Regions from separate parts of the Homo sapiens genome. Here regions 2, 3, 4 and 5 are each linked to region 1. The links are contacts of gene promoters, found by promoter capture Hi-C in human tissues and cell types (Jung and others, 2019). All regions are on one chromosome and are shown on one strand. The core of a region is centred on a gene start or on the middle of the fragment in contact, and the rest is flanking DNA. Distances in the headings are between cores, read along the strand shown.

The links. Contacts are between HindIII fragments. The study calls those that stand out against the background at their distance.
Region 2: the fragment with the promoter of MEIS3 here is called in contact with the fragment with the promoter of TPRX1 in region 1 in 2 of the 25 tissues and cell types used here (mesenchymal stem cells and spleen).
Region 3: a fragment that was not itself captured here is called in contact with the fragment with the promoter of TPRX1 in region 1 in 1 of the 25 tissues and cell types used here (dorsolateral prefrontal cortex).
Region 4: a contact is called between the fragment with the promoter of SLC8A2 here and the fragment with the promoter of TPRX1 in region 1, in 4 of the 25 tissues and cell types used here (heart left ventricle, lymphoblastoid cells, small bowel and 1 more).
Region 5: a contact is called between a fragment that was not itself captured here and the fragment with the promoter of TPRX1 in region 1, in 1 of the 25 tissues and cell types used here (hippocampus).

The regions. Positions count from the first base shown.
Region 1 is chr19:47,803,163-47,806,230 of GRCh38, forward strand. It overlaps TPRX1 (tetrapeptide repeat homeobox 1), which reads right to left and starts at 1,389. Exons shown (of 3, transcript NM_001397346.1): 1 at 1,353-1,389; 2 at 342-511. The coding sequence starts at 1,377. The HindIII fragment of the contact is 58,136 bases long and covers 1-3,068 here.
Region 2 is chr19:47,417,519-47,420,862 of GRCh38, forward strand. MEIS3 (Meis homeobox 3) reads right to left here and starts at 2,009. Exons shown (of 13, transcript NM_001301059.2): 1 at 1,552-2,009. The coding sequence starts at 1,563. RefSeq lists enhancers at 103-1,095, 1,096-2,089. The HindIII fragment of the contact is 42,961 bases long and covers 1-3,344 here.
Region 3 is chr19:48,203,691-48,206,707 of GRCh38, forward strand. LOC124904734 (a long non-coding RNA gene) reads left to right here and starts at 471. Exons shown (of 2, transcript XR_007067282.1): 1 at 471-532. It also overlaps a transcript of CARD8 not described here. RefSeq lists an enhancer at 400-569. The HindIII fragment of the contact is 4,690 bases long and covers 1-3,017 here.
Region 4 is chr19:47,470,295-47,473,707 of GRCh38, forward strand. SLC8A2 (solute carrier family 8 member A2) reads right to left here and starts at 1,599. Exons shown (of 10, transcript NM_015063.3): 1 at 1,495-1,599. The HindIII fragment of the contact is 16,110 bases long and covers 1-3,413 here.
Region 5 is chr19:47,501,433-47,504,828 of GRCh38, forward strand. It overlaps NAPA (NSF attachment protein alpha), which reads right to left. Exons shown (of 11, transcript NM_003827.4): 2 at 1,991-2,070. NAPA-AS1 (NAPA antisense RNA 1) reads left to right here. Exons shown (of 4, transcript NR_038452.1): 4 at 25-165. Among named protein-coding and RNA genes, the nearest start is that of NAPA, 12 kb to the right of the region's middle. The HindIII fragment of the contact is 4,210 bases long and covers 1-3,396 here.

The DNA.
Region 1 (3,068 bases), core at 139-2,638:
TAGGGGGAGGAGGGTGGGGTGGGATGGGAGGAGCGGGGTCTGCCGCCCAGGTGCCCGGGGGGCCAGGGAGGGTTCGAGGGGAGGGACCGCGGGTTCTCACGGGTGCCTGAGGTCCGGGCACCGGGAGACCCCGTGGGGGACAGCCTGGGCCGATCATGTGGGCGAGTTTGGGCTAGCATAGAGTTGGAACAGGACTCAGGATGCAGCCCTGGTCTACACTGGCGGGACCCCTTGCGTGGCAGGGCGGGAGGTGGTCGGGCGGGCCAGGCCCCGGTGAGTGACAGCGGTGGGGAGGCTCCTTGGGGTGACTGGGGCGGGCAGGGTGGGGGTGGGGGTCAGACCTGCAGCTGTTGCTCCCTGAGGCTGAGCATCTCCGCCAGATTCAGTCGCTGGTCGTAGTTCGGGTACTGGTCCTTCTGAAAGTAAAATTCTAGCACTTTCTGCTGGCTTTCAGTGTAGACCGTGCGCTCCTGCCGCTGTCTCCTTGGAGGGTCCAGGGCCAGGGGAGGGCCTGGGGGTGGGAGGGAAACAGGTCACAGAAACCCCCAGGCAGCCCCCAGCCCCCCTAGGGACCCCGTCCCCTGCACCAGGCCAGGAGCCCAGGCAGTGTGGGCTGGGGCGGCACCGCGGATAGCAGCCTGGTATCCAGACCAGACCTTGCACCTCTCTGGGCCTCAGGGTCCACATCTAGGAAATAGGCGCGATAACAGCTCCTGGGAAGGCAGGCAGCGTAGGCGCCTCACCTCGGAGCAGACGGGGCTGCCTCAGGCCTGCTCAACCCTCCCCAGCTGCCCCGTCCCCTCCCATCCAAGGGTTATAGGGACCCTGACACTTGCAGGGGAGCCGCCACCTGCCCAGTCCTCTGCTCCACTCAACTGCATGGTTTAATTTCTTTCCTTCTTTCTTTTTCTTGGAGGGGATCTCGCTCTGTCACCCAGGCTGGAGTGCAGTGATGTGATCACGGCTCAAGTCAGCCTCCACTTCCTGGGCTCAAGGAACCCCCCGCCTTAGTCTCCCGAGTAGCTGGGACCACAGGTGTGCACCACGACCCCTGGGTAATTTTTGTATTTTTGCTAAAGACGGGTCTCCACTATGTTGGCTCGGCTGGTTTCAGAGTCCCGGGCTCAAGTGATCCTCCCACCTTGGCTTCCCAAAGAGCTGGGATCACAGGCGTGAGACGCTACACCCAGCTGCATGATTTTTCATTTCCCAGACACCACTAAGTTCTCCCCCGTCTGCAGGACAGGAAGCCGCCCGCACAGGCCCAGCCCTTCTCTGGCTGCCCAGATTTGCACTCTGCAGCCTCAGCCACAGGATCAGCCCAGACCCCTCACACCTCTGTCCCCGCTCACCTTGGAGATGACCAGGGTCTTGCATCCTGAGTCCTGATCTGTTCCCAAACACAAGTGTGTACTGACAAGGGCTTGGCTCTTAAATCACTTCTCTGCTGTGCCCACCCTGGCCCACCCTGCCGGGACCCTCCCTTTCCCACCCTGCCCTGCAGTCCCGCCCCCTGGAGGAGTTGAATGATGGATTAATCCTTCATCACTGATCAGGTACTGCCTGCTGAGCTGTGCTAGGAGCTGGAGAACCTCAGTGGACAACACAGCCTTGGTTTCACCCTCATGGGCCCTAGCCCAGGTGAGGTGGCATTCCATGCGGGTTTGGTTGGGGGAGTCAACATCGTGACCTGTGGTTGGGGTCCCCATCTCAGGAGAGGCACCGCCAGCCAGCCCCCAGGAGTCATCCTTGTTCCTTCCCAGGGCTGGGGCCCCGAGTGACCAATGCCGGTGAGTCTACCCACTCCTCCTGGCTCCTGGGCTGCCTGCCTTGTCCAGCCACTATCCCTCCTTCCTGGATGACCTTGCAACCTCCTCTTTGGTACCTCAAGGCCACTCTGGCCCCTACTATCCATTCCAAAAATTGCTCCCTAGGTGCCTATAGGTGTAAGCAGAGCTTAGTACACATTGGCCCTGCTGATAATGGTTTGGTTTCTGTAGTGGATTTGCCTATGGGGTGAAGTTCTGATAGGCATTCACATAGACCTCTGTTGGTTTCTCCTGGAGAGTAAATGACCTCAGTGCTGGTTTATTCCAGTTTATATACGGGGCTCGTGTGCTGGGTTCACATGAGCCCAGCCTCTCCAAGCTGCATAGACCTGTATCAGGAGGGGGCACAGGTCTGATGGACGTGCCCATGGACCGCTGCTGGTCTGCCCTTGTGAGTGAATGAACCTACTGCTGATGATACAGGGGACCCATGACCTTGGTCTACAGAGATCGGATCCCTCAGAGATGCGTCTTCTCTGTCAGACACCTGGCTGTCCTCATTTCCCCATGGCAGGACCCACGTGGGTTCAGGGATTAGAGAGATTGACAAGGCTCATGGTGCAGGGAACTAGAAATGACTCATGCAATCAATTTCAAAATTCAATAAAACGTAGACATTGTTACCACGGGCCTCGCTCATTGTTTTCACCTGCTACTTAGAGTTCTGCTGTAGAAAGCAGCATCCCCAGCAATGATTCCTCATCGCACACATTGTCCGGCTTCATCTACAGGACATGCTGGGAACACAGTAGTGACCACAGAGATTTTGCACCATGGCTATTTATTTGGTCAATAAAGACATAAACAGATGAACAAGCTCACTGGTACTATTTTGTGAAAATAGACATTTAAATATAAGCAAGTTCACGGCAGCATGATTCACTATCGCCCAAAAGGAGAAAATGCTGAAAACATCGATCCACTGATGCATGGATAAATAAAATGCTGCATGGCCAGGCGCGGTGGCTCACGCCTGTAATCCCAGCACTTTGGGAGGCTGAGGCAGGCAGATCACCTGAGGTCAGGAGTTTAAGACCAGCCTGGCCAACATGGCGAAACCCTGTCTACTAAAAATACAAAAATTAGCTGGGCGTGGTGGCCAGCACCTGAATTTCAGCTACTTGGGAGGCTGAGGCGGGGGAATTGGTTGAACCCGGGAGGCGGAGGCTACAGGGAGTGGAGATTGTGCCACTGTACTCCAGCCTGGGCAACAGAGTGAGACTCCATCTCAAAATAAAT
Region 2 (3,344 bases), core at 759-3,258, 390 kb before region 1:
CCCCTGGAGCTGCCTCGGTGGGGAGTGAGGACCCCGTCCAGGCAGAGATTCCTGACATGTGGGCAGGAGGACCCAGAGGGAGAGACGGCAGGGTCTGGCTGGGAGGGAAAAGAGATGGAGAAAGTGGCGTGAGAAGACAGTGACAGAGACAGAGAGAGAGACAGACAGAGAGGGAGATCCATGGACACCTCCTGTAGGAACCGCGCATTGTTGTACACAAAGTACACATACGAAGCCTCCCTGTCTTCTATTTCATTTCACAGTTGGCAGATAAGCGCATCAGAGTAAGTCTCAACAACATGTCACACTCCACTCGCCACGTGAATCTACCACACATGTAGACACAGCCATACACACCAACCCACGTGCACACTCATGTGTCAGTCACACCCAAATCCCCCCCCCCACACACACATGCACACACACATGCACACAGCCCAACACCAGGCACAAGAATGAATGCATGATTGAGACATTTGGCACATGGATGAATGAATGAATGAGGCATTTAGCACAGGGCCTGGCTCATGCTGTGAGCACTTGTTGCCGGAGAGGGTCACTCCGCACCACCATACAGACACGATTGCGCACCCAAGAGAAACACCATTATGGGGTAGGACGACCGCGTCCTGTCGTCACAGAACCATGCACCTGGGAAGCCAGGGGCACCTTCCTCTCATCAGGTCAAATCCCTTCCTCAGTGATGAAGACACGGAGGCTCAAAGAGGCAGCAGGACTCGCACGGGAAGAGGCTAGAACGTTCCTGCCTCGGACCCTCGCCTGGCTGGGCACCCTGGTTCTGTGTGTCCCACTCTTTCCCTCTCCCTCTTCTCCTAACTTCTCCTGTGCCCTGAAGTTGAATCCAACTGCTCCCCGCTGCTCAAGGCACTCTCACCAAAAGCGGTCCTCACAGCCTACCCGGAACCCCCAAAACGGGCGCGCGCCTCCTCCCCTGTCTTCTATCCCCGTTCCCATCCCCAGGGAGACAGGCTCCGTGGGGCCAGCAGCCTGGTGAGACCACCTCTCCCACCCCTGTCCCACTCCTAGCCCTGGAGAGGCAGGGGCGGCTTGGAACAAAAGTAGAGCGAAGGGAAGGACGGAGGAGAGCAGAAAAAAGGGGGGACGGTGAGGTGCGGGCGGCTGAGATGGAGGAGGAAGCCCAGGAACAGAGGAGAGAGACTGCGGGTGGGGGAGGGCAGAGAGAGGGGGATAGAGAGGCAGAAAGAGGGGGGAGACCAGGGACAGAGAGAGGGGGACAGAGAGGCAGAAAGGAGGAGGAGAGTGGGGCAGACAGAGGGGGACAGAGGGGCAGGGAGAAGGAGAAGCTAAACGATGGGGAGGAGGCGAGGCCGAGGGCCAGGAAGAGACACTTGGGGGCAGAGAGGGGGCACACAGGGACTGGGAGACCCAGGGGCGGAGGGAGGGGCAGAGAGAGAGCGAGGTGGTGTAGAGGACGGATGGGCTAATGGGGGCCAGCGCCGGAGAGTGGGGGATGCAGGGACAGGGGGTGCGGAAGCGGCCGGGACGCGGGGTCCCCGCCCCGAGACCTACCCTCCGGGCCATGGGCTGAGGCCGGCGGCAGCTCCTGGGTCCCTCCAGAGCCTGGCCGCGGGGGAGGGCGCAGCCCGGGGCCGCAGCCCCTGACGGCCCGCGGTGTTGACGCCAGGGGGTGGGCAGGAGGCCAGGCGCGCGCCCCCCCACCCCCGCCGCCGTCAGCGGCAGGCGCCGGGCCGGGTGGGGACTCCGCGCATGGACCCCGGCCCCCGCCCCCAGCGGGGGTCACGGCCAGGAGCGCATCGCCGCCGGGGCGGGGGCAGCAGGCGCAGGCGGGGCGCCCGAGGCCCCCTCCTCTGGGCCCCCCCCGTCCCTTCCCCGGCTCTGGAGGGAATCGAACCGTCCCGAGACGGACACACCGGGGACCGCAGGGGGCGGGGGGCGGCCCGGGGCGACGGAGGGTCCGGCGGCGGCTCAGGGGTGCTGGCAGCCGCGCTCCCCGTTCCCGGTCTCTCCCTTGTCTTGTGGAAATTAAACAGAACCACCAAGGAGCGGGATAGGGGATGAGCCAGAGTGAGCCTGCAGAGCTACAGCACGAGGGATTGGGGTTAGGGCAGCAGCAGCACTTCCGGTGGGAGTCGGGGAGGGGCAGGCTGTGGGGGGAGGAGAGGAAGAGACCGCGGCCCTGGTGCCCCCAGGCCCCTCCTCTCCTACCCAGGGCTGGGGTTCCTGCTCCGGGTTTCTCAGTCTCCCTCTTTCCCAGTCTCTCTCTCCTTGTCTCTCTCTGTCTCCGCTTCTCCCGTCCTTTCTCTCCTCTGGCTCTCTGTTCTCCGAGCCCCCTGGACACACCACGGACCCCCTCCCTGGCCATCTCCAGGGGTCACGTGGGAATCTGGAGTCTGGTCCCACCGTAGGCTCTCCCCTCTCTGAGGCTCGATTCCCCCTCTGCAGGATGGGCAGTGCGCTGGGGGCGGCGGGGGTGGGCTGTGGATAACGGAGAAACAGTTAAGCTAGAGGGTGCCAGGACTCAGGGTCTTGGCTGAGTCTGGGGGTCCCCATGCCGGCGGGCTCTGCCCCCGTGGCTGTCCTGCGGTGAGGCTGGCCGTTTAAGGCAGTCCGAGGGGAAGGGTCTGGAGGCCTTGCCTTTCCTCAAGGCCGGCGCACCCCAGATAGGGGTTTTGGAGCAGAAAATTAATTTAAATCACTTTTTAATTAAAGACACAAGGCCCTTTGGTCTGCTCCACCCCCACCTCACCCTCAGCCAAGACTTGGGGTGAGGGATGCAAGGGTTAGGAGTCTCTGGCTCTATTTGCTTTTTTGGGGGGTGGTGCATGCTAAGGTCCCCTTAGCCCAGGCTGATTCTGAAACCTAGAGGAGCAAGTGCGGCCTCATCTGACGGCCAGTGGTGGGGGGCGTGGACAGAGCAGGAAGGGAGGGAGGGGGCACCTGGGATGGGGATGGGGCCTAACTGGAGTGGGGAGGGAGGTAACTCCAGTGACGGTGTGATTCAGAGAGAGAGAGAGACAGAGACAGACGCGGGTGGGAGGAGAGAGAGAGAGAGGTGCAGACAGAGTGAGACAGACAGGAGGGGGAGGGAGTGGGGGACAGGAGCTCCAATAGAGACCCTGGAGTCGTCCCTGCCACCCCCAAAACAAGAGCAGGGGGCTTGGACTCTGAAGCATAAATCTTTCTAATTAAAGAAAGAGACGAGCTGTTGGGAAGGGAGAAATAAGTGTGTGGGAGAGAAATTGATTGGGGGAGGATGGAGGATGCCGGCGGGGGACGGAGGGAGCAGGGGGGAGGCTCCGGCTTTCTGAGGCTCTTCCTCCAGTCTTTCCCTCTGTCTGTCC
Region 3 (3,017 bases), core at 206-2,705, 400 kb after region 1:
CCTGTTGCAAAGTAAGCTTTGAGTTAAAAAAAAAGATGAAAGAATGAAAATGGCAGACTGCCTAGCAGAACTAGCCCTTCCCGATGTTTCATTGTTGCTATAGTGACGATCCAGTCTGCACGAAGATCCCAGCTTCCTTAACCTTGTTCCTACCTCCAGCCAGCTCACCCATTGGCCACCTGTATCTCCTGCTGTAGCAGCCAGAAAGCTACAACTCCCAGCCGGCTGAGCGCCACCAGCGCTTTCGCGTCCAAGTCCCTTTGCTGAGTGTGAGGGCCTGCGCAGTAGAACCCGCGGGCCCAGAGCTCCATCTGAGCATGTGCAGGCTGCGGGGTGTTTCCTTCGTCTGCTGGCGGGAGAGGAGTGGGGAGGAGCTCTTTACCCGCTGAGCATTGTGGGGCCCGCTTGGATCTCCTTGTCCAAAGGGTCTGGGCGCCGGGGCTGCAGTCTCTGGGTGAGGAGGCGGACGCGGGAAACCTGCTTCGGTCTCCATGGTTACGAGCCGCTCAGCGCGCAGGAGGGGGATTCAAAGGTTGGCGTTGCCACAGTAACCCTGGAGTGGAAGGAGACGGGGATTAGAGACCTCGCGGGAGAAATTAGACTAACAGCCTGGGAACTGGAGGGATGGAGGGTGTGCCGGAGGAATCAGTCTGCAGTAAGGGGAGTTGGGGTGATATTAGGGGAAATGGGATGTTTTCAAGGACAGGGAGTGTTTTGGTGAATTCCTATGTAATAAGGAGATTTGGGGAGATCATTGAAATCGACAAGTTACTAGATACTTGGGATGCTCAAGGGGAAGTGGAAACGCAGTAGGATCCGCCCGCCTCAGCCTCCCAAAGCAGTAGGGAAAATTGGGGTATTAAGCTCTTTTGCCATTCTGCAGTTATTATAGAGCTCCTGCTGGAAGCCAGGCACAGTTGACAGTACTGGTAAACAGGACAGATGTGACTATAGACGGAATTGGGGTTTCATGGAGAAGGGGAGGTATAAGAAAAGGGGACTGTTGTCCTCTATGGGAGGGACTGGGAGGCGATTGGGAAGAACTGGCGCTGTAAAGAGAAGCTGGAAGTTTTATAAGGGAATTGAGGTATTATATAAGTTAATTCTGTTGTTATTTATAGAAGGCCAACTCAGTAGCAGCCTCTAGGAAGCACTGAGGATTCCTCAGTATGCAAAGGCATTTAGTGATAGAGTTACCAGATTTAGGGGGAAAGCAATGGCCAGTTAAATTCTAATTTCGGAAAATGCATAATATTGTAGTTACTCTCTGTTGTTTATCTGAAATTCAAATTTAGCTGGGCATCCTGTATTTTATTTGGCAGCTCTCATTATGGTTAATTTAAGTGTTTGTGAAGAGTGGGTTATTATAGGGGAAACAGGTATTATAGAGTAATTGGGTTGTAGGAGGAGCTGGGGATAGTCAGGAAAAGTCGGAGTGTTGAAGCTAACGCCAAGATCAGCACTGACTGTGTGCCAGAGACTATGCTAAGTACTCTTATTTTTAAAAACGTTTTATTATGGAAAGTTTCGGCCATATACAATTGTTTGCTTGTTTTTGAGATGGAGTCTTACGCTGTCGCCCAGGCTGGAGTGCAGTGGCATGATCTCTGCTCATTTCAACCTCTGCTTCCCGGGTTCAAGCGATTCTCCTGCCTCAGCCTCCCGAGTAGCTGGGATTACAGGTGCGCACCACCACGCCCGGCTAATTTTTGTAATTTTAGTAGAGAAGGGGTTTCACCATGTTGGCCAGGCTGGTCTTGAACTCCTGACCTCAAGAGATTCACCCACCTCAGTCTCCCAAAGTGCTGGGATTATAGGCGTGAGCCACTGCGCCTGGCCCATATACAATTGTTAAACAGATAATATATAATAAAGCTACTTGTACCCATCTCTGCTTTACATGAGTGCTGTTGAGGCATCCCAACATTCCTATGAGGTAGCGTTACTGTCACACCCCCATTTTACAGATGAGGAAACTGCACCACAGAGAGGTTAAATAACTTGGCCAGAGGTGTTAGAACCAGAATTTGGACCCACACAATCGGGCCCCAGAGTCTGGGCTCTCAGCTGCCATATCACATGTAACCTCCGTCTGGGAAATGTGAGTAGGGAGTGAGGCATGATGGGAGCAACAAGAGAGTAGTAGTAAGGTATAAAAGGAAAGGTAGGGAATTGGGCCGTTTGAGCATTGTGCAGTTGTTATAGGATTTTTATTTTTATTTTTTGAGACAGAGTCTCACTCTGTCACCCAGGCTGGAGTGCAGTGGTGCAATTTTGGCTCACTGCAACCTCCACCTTCTGAGTTCAAGCAATTCTCCTGCCTCAGCCTCCCAAGTAGCTGGGATTACGGGTGTGCGCCACCATGCCTGGCTAATTTTTGTATTTTCAGTAGAGACGAGGTTTCACCACGTTGGCCAGGCTGGTCTCGAACTCCTAACCTCAAGTGATCCACCCGCCTCAGCCTCCCAGAGTGCTGGGATTACAGCCGTGAGCCATCGCCCCCAGCCAGTTGTTCTAGGATTTTTATAAGATGTTTTGGGAGACTGGGGGAGTTACAGAAGAGTTTGGTGTTTTGAAACATTATGGGAAGTTGTATAGTTGCATTTCAATAGAACAGTAGCAGCTAGCCACATGTGGGTGCATTACATTAATTATAATGAAATAAAACTCAGCACATTTCAGGAAGCGCCTACCGTATTGGATAGTGAAGATCTAGAGCAGTCCCAATGAGTCTGGATAACAGGGATTTAGGGTAACCAAGGGTTAAGGCACAAGCAGGTGCAGCCAGTTCTAGGCAAGATTGGGCAGCATCCAGGCCACATCCTCACTCCTGTGATAACAAGACAGAAGTCTCCACTTCAGCCTCTTGATTGGTCACGGGCCAATCCTTCATAGGGTGTAACCAACTGGAGGCCTCTAAAGGGCACCTAGGGGTGTTACCAAATTCTTTTAGCTTAATGAAAACTCTAAAGAGCACTGCAGTCAGGGGCTCTTGAGCTACTTGCTCAAGCCCACTC
Region 4 (3,413 bases), core at 349-2,848, 330 kb before region 1:
CGTGGGCACTGTCACACAGGGCTGGGACCTCACCTGCAGCCAGGGAGACATCATACACACACACACACACACACACACACACACACACACACACCAGGGCTACAGGCACAGCCTCGTACCTTTTCGCCATCACTCACTCTCTTGCCCACCTTCTCCAGGGCCCCCTTCTCTCAAGGAAGGCAGACAGTGTGTTGGCCAGGGCCCTCTCAGCACCCCCCACTGAGACAGTGTGAGGCTGGCACACCAGGAAAGGGATGGAAGTGAGACTGCAGGAAGGACTGGCCCGGTCTAACTCAGTACCTAGTGCTTGCCCAGAGCAGGAAAGGCGCTCAGTAATTATCAACAAGAATGAATGAATCAAGAGCTGGACAAACAGCAAGAGGTATGGAAGTGAGACGGCAGGAAGGACTGGTCCAGTTACACGAGGAAGACTGGGGAGGTTAGATTGAAGGGAGGTCTGGTCTCATCTCTACTACAGAGGCTACCGGTTAAACTGCAAGAAGGACCGGCCTCAGAACGCCAGAAACAAGGCAGGGGGAGGTGGGCTCGGTCCTCAGGGGAGAGCTGGGGTGGGTGCCGGCTGGGAGGAGTGGAGAGAGCAGGGGAGCTCTGCTGAAGTGGGGAGAGGAGTTTAGAGGACTCCAGGCCTGGGGGAGCCCACTCTGCGGGTGGGGGGGTCTAATTCCTCCAGGTCCCCCCTGCCAGGGGCGGAGACAAAGGTGTGTGGGAGGAGGGTGCACTGGCTCCCAGGGAGAGCCAGAGAAGAGGAAAGAGAGAGAGAAACAGAGACTGAGATATCCAGAGACAGAGATGGAGACGAGGGGGAGATGGGGAGGGAGGGAGAGAGAGAGAGAGAGAGAGAGACATGCGGACATGGGAAGAGACAGAGACACAGAGAAAGCAGAGACAGAGAGAGACACAGGAAAGCTGAGACAAGGGAGAGAGGCAGAGACACAGAGACACAGAGAAACAGAGATGGCGCAAGAGGAAAGGAGAGAGAAACCCAGGACTTAGAGACAGAGCCCCAGAGAGACTCCGAACAGACCCCGGCACAGAGACACAGAGAGAGGGAGACAGGAGTGAGAGACTGAGAGACAGGGACTCCCAGAGGCGGCCAGACTCTGCTAGACAGAGACCCCTGAGACATGTGGAGAGACAGAAAGATGAGACCCAGACACAGGAAGGCGGGGGCAGAGGTAGAGAGCGCGAGGGGGGGTGCCCCAGACGGGGTGGGGGCGGGGTGTCCTCGCCCCCCAGTACCCAGGCGGTCCCCCTCCCCAGCCGCCCGAGAACCAGGAGGGACTGAAGGTGTTGGGGCGGCTGGTGGCACTCCCACCCCACAGAAGGTACGCGTGCTGGGCCAGGCAGCCCCCCACCTCCATAAACCAGCCCAGGGAAGCCAGCTCCAGGCTTCCCGAACCGCCCCCACTCCGCACCTGGGGTAACCCCGTCCTTTTCCCACGCCCCCACCTCCCCACCAATGGGGTCTCTTACCTGCGGCTACAGCCTGGAGCAGGTCCCCCCAGCGCTGGGCTGGCAGTGGTGGGCGACTCCGCCCGAAAGAGAGAGAGAGATTGAGAGAGAGAAAAGCCTGAGACTGAGAGGGAGAGCCGGGGAGGAGGGGAGGGAGAGGGGATAGAGGGAGGAGAAGAGGAGAGGGGAGGGACACGGGGGAGGGGGAGGCGGCGAGGGAGCGAGGGAGGGGGAGGAGCCGGAGAGAGGGGGAGGAGGCGGAGGCGGGCAGAGGGAAGGCGGTGCGGGAGGCGGGGGGAGGCCCGGGGAGGGGCCTGGGGGAGCAGGGAGCCCGAGCCTCCTCCCCAGCCTCCGGGTTCAGCACCAGAGGCAGGGGACAGCACCGGAGGGCGCTCCTGTGTGTTTCAGAAGCAGCCCCCGCCCCCCAACACACACACACACACACGCACACACACACACGCACGCAGTCTCCCAGCCATACAAGGGCCAACAGCTACAAATAGTTACAGACTTACAGAACTAGGGGGAGGGCAAGAATGTTTAGCTGGAGTCAGATCCAAATTCACATACTGTGCCTGCACAGCCTCACAAAGGAGGCCAGAAACAACCACAAAGACACCCATTAATAAGAATAACAACAGCTGCCATACATACAGGCAGCCCTGACCACGTGCCTGGCATCGGCAGCACATTATTATTATTTGAGACAGGGTCTCACTCTGTCACCCAGGCTGGAGTGCAGTGGCACGATCTTGGCTTACTGCAGCCTCAACCTCCTGGGCTCAAGCAATCCTCCTGCCTCAGCCTCCTGAGTAGCTGGGACTACAGGTGCCCGCCACCACCACGCCAGGCTTTTTCCCTCCATTTTTTTTTTTTAGGAGATGGGATCTCACCATGTTACCCAGGCTGGTCTCCAACTCCTGGGCTCAAGCGATCCTTCTGCCTTGGCCTCCCGAGTAGCTGGGACTACAGGTGCCCACCACCACCACGCCAGGCTTTTTTTCTCTTCATTTTTTTTAAGAGACGGGGTCTCACTATTTTACCTAGGCTAGTCTCCAACTCCCGGGCTTAAGCAATCCTTCTGCCTCGGCCTCCCAAAGCGCTGAGATTACAGGTGAGAGCCACCGCACAGGTGAGAGCCACCGCACCTGGCATGTTCTAATGTTTTTTATAAATTTAGGTAAATGCTATTATGAGCTTCACTTACAGACAGGGAAACCAAGGCATGAGGTGGTAAATATGGCTCCAGATTCTACACCCTTAACTGCTGCACCGCACAATTCCCCAGGCTGAGGACGGGTCAGGTCAAGAAGAGACTTGCAGGCTGGGTGCGGTGGCTCACGCCTGTAATCCCAGCACTTTAGGAGGCTGAGGCGAGCAGATCACTTGACGTCAGGAGTTGGAGACCAGCCTGGCCAACATGGCGAAACCCTGTCTCTTCTAAAAATACAAAAATTAGCCAGGCCAGGTGGCACACGCCTGTAATCCCAGCTACTTGGGAGGCTGAGGCAGGAGAAATCGCTTGAACCTGGGAGGTGGAGGCTGCAGTGAGCTGAGATCATGCCACCGCACTCTAGCCTGGGTGACAGAGTGAGACTCCATCTCCAAAAAAAAAAAAAAAAAAGAAAGAAATGAACTGCAAAGGGCCAGGCAGGTGGCCTGGGCTCCTGAAGACACAAACTCATGCACCCTGCGATGGGCCCACACACATACCCCCACGCAAGCACACACCTCTGCAAGGCACACCAGCACTACACCCACCCCCAATCCTGCTCCCCCCCACAACAGGGGGTGATGGCGTGTTAGTCGGTGTGGAGTGCTCCTTCTCTAGAGGCGGACAGTGGGAGGGAGGGGGCCTTGCTCGTGCCACCGGTCCTGCCCACTGCCAGTCCTGGCTGGACACCGTCAGGCCTGCTGGCCAGGGGAGGGAGAGGATCCGG
Region 5 (3,396 bases), core at 337-2,836, 300 kb before region 1:
CACATTCTGTTCCCTTCACTGCAGATCCCCATGGACAAGGCACTTGCATGAATTGTGAGGCTCATGGAGTTGGGGTCGGACAACACAGAGCCGGCTCCCTCCAGGAGCTGCATGTCCAGAGAGGGAAACAGGATGTGGACAGCAAGAATGAATACATGCAGACCAGTGCCCATGGGCGGAGGGCAGAAGAGACCGTGCCTGAAGCCTCATCCATCCTGTGCTCATCTGCACACGGTCAGCTTCTGTGGGTCCCAAGCCATTCTGCCCACACATCTCCTAACTGACGTTTGGGAGGCAGCAGCATCTCTCCTCCTCCTCGTGCAGCTGACCACCTCCAGCTCAGCTCTGAGGCTTCTCCCCTTCATTCTCCTCCAGCTGAATCTGAGTCAGAGTTTCTAAGCTGGAAGAGGACCAGGAGGCCTGGCCCTATCCTCTTAAGTTTTGAGCAGCAGAAAAGACAAAGCCTTCCGGGTTTTCACTATATGATTTCATTATTTTCAAGAGTTCCAAATTTGAGTATAAAATTACGGCCAGGCGCGGTGGCTCATGCCTGTAATCCCAGCACTTTGGGAGGCCGAGGTGGGCGGATCACGAGATCAGGAGATGGAGACCATCCTGGACAACATGGTAAAACTCTGTCTCTACTAAAAATACAAAAATAAGCTGGGCGTAGTGGCACGTGCCTGTAATCCCAGCTAGTCAAGAGGCTGAGGCAGGAGAATCACTTGAACCAGGGAGGCGGAGGTTGCAGTGAGCCAAGATCGCGCCACTGCACTCCAGCCTGGCAACAGAGCAAGACTGTCTCAAAAAAAAAAAAAAAAAAAAAAAAAAAAAAATTTCAAGAAAAGGGGATATTACCGGGGGGAAATGGCCTAGGGCTTTTCTTTGAAGAGTTTGGGGGCAGAGGTAACAAATTTTAGGGGAAAAGCAACACCTATGTAATTAAAAAATAAGCTTTTTTTCTCTAGAGGAATTTTCTAAGTTTGGGAGCATAAAAATACAAAAAACATTTGGCTTTATTCACAACGTATTTTGTGAAAACTCAGGAATAACTCTTTGAATTTTGGGGAAACCAACAACATTCTCAAAAACGATGATAATCAATTTTATTGTGCACCTCTGCACCCTGCCTCCATGGTCCCACCACCAGGTTCCCTCTCCTCCACAGTCAGAAGTTCCTCCCTGCATTCAAACACTGGGTCTCTTGCCGTATTTCCTTAATTCAATCTTGGTGACATGAAAGATGTATGATGAAATGAGCCTCGAAAGGGCTCAACACACTGGCTTGTTGGACTTCTTGGGCCTGCAGGGAGCTCCAAACAGATCTCCAGCCTCCCTGAGCCCAAGGGGCTCCTCCCCACCCCTCTCCTCTGTGAAGCTATCCTGCCTCACTGGGGCAGGTTAAACACTCAGGCTCTGCAGTCAGAGCCTTGGTTTCTGAATCTTGGTTCTGTCACTTACTAGTTCTGGCATCCTGGGCAAGAGACTAAGCCAAGCCTCAGTTTCCAAATCTGTAAAATAGGGATATTTATAGACTGACCCTTAGGGCTGCTGTGCTAACGCAATTAAATGATGAGCACTTAGGACTCAACAAACAGCAGCCATGATTCACGTTGTTATTGGAATCACCTGAACATCCTCCCCCAGCCTAGAATTTAGACACTGATGGAAGCACTAAGGAAGTTACCAGGAAACCTGAAGTTCTGAATTTAAGGAGGACTCTAAGAGCTCATCAATCCACATGGGTTTATCTAGGTCTAATAATCTATTTATTCCCATCCTCTCTGTCCTTTCACCAAGGCCCCATGACCCAGAGTATAAAGTAACCCAGCAGGCACAAAACAAGAGAGCAGGCCAGTGGCTTTCCGATGCCGGAGAGGGCATACAAAGAGAAAGGGCCCTCAAGGCCAACCTCTCGGGCAGGCCTGTGTGAGTGGAAGCTGAGGGAGGAGGAGAGCACCTTGGAGGAGCTCTAGCGGAGATGACATACCACTCCAGTTTTTGGCCATTTTGAACATGTTTGCTGCTCTGGCGTAGATTTCGCATGCTTCCTCTATTTTGGATGAGCCTCTGGGGAAAAAGGAAAGAAAAAAAGGAGACAATCTAGTCGGCTATCCAGGAGAAAGCAAGCATTCTGCTCCAGTGCCGGGCACAGACGTGCCCCTACCCCTCACCCTTCACCTGTGAAGCCAGCTTCCCCCAGGCCTCTTGAGTCTGTGGCCCCCGCCCCTGCATACAATGGCACACTCACTTCGGGCAGACCAGCTCCCTCCGGGAGTACTGGGGTAGATACTGGGTGCTTGCTGGGGTAGTGGGGCGAAGAGTTCCTGACCCCACCACAACCCCAGGGTCTGACAGCCTCTTCTACTTCCTGCCTGGGATACTAGGGGCCCACTGGGTCCCAGGCGCGCTACAAATCCCCTTTCCCCGGGAGACTGCAAAGCATTCTGGGGGACTAGCCCAGTTTAAGACATCGTGTTGCTTTCGCAGAGGCAGCCTTAATCCTGTGCCTTGCACTCTGTGGTTGCTCAATAAAGACCTTGCAGCCCTGGAGTGTGTCATTACCAGCTCAGGACTGGGCATATATATCACACAGCCATACAAAGAAATGGGAAGCACTATTTTAAAGTGTAGATATAAGATGTTCCCATTTGTGTTTAAAAAAAAAAGAGGGTGGGCTGGGTGTGGTGGTTCATGGCTCCTGTAATCCCAACACTTTGGGAGGCCAAGGTTGGCGGATTGCTTGAGCTCAAGAGTTCGAGACCAGCCTGGGCCACACGGCAAAACCCCAACTCTACAAAAAATACAAAAAATTAGCAGGGTGTGATGGTGCACGCCTGTAGTCCTAGCTACTAGAGAGGCTGATGTGGGAGGATCACTTGAGCCTGGGAGGCAGAGGTTGCAGTAAGCCAAGATCACACCATTGAACTCCAGCCTGGACGACGACAGAGCCAGACCTTGTCTCAAAAAAAAAAAAAAAAAAAAAAAGAGAAAGAGAGTGAAAATAATAGAAACATACATGTTTATATAAACATAGGATATTTCTGGGCAAATACACAAAAACCTAGTAACAGCATTTTTCTCTTAAGGTGAAGCCTGCAGAAGGAGGGCCAGGTGTGGGAGGCAGACTTATTCACTGGACATCCCGTATTTGTACTGTCTGAATTTTTTTTTAACTGTTTGTACATCTTTTCGAGAAAAAAAATATATACATATATACACACACGTGTACATATATACACATGTGTATATATGTGTATGTGTATATATGTGTGTATATATCTATACATTTACACATACACAGACACACACACACACATATTTTTAAGTATTAGGATTTATATTTGGCCCTGTGGTCCAGCAATGAATTACATCTCTAGCAATTTATCCTAAAAA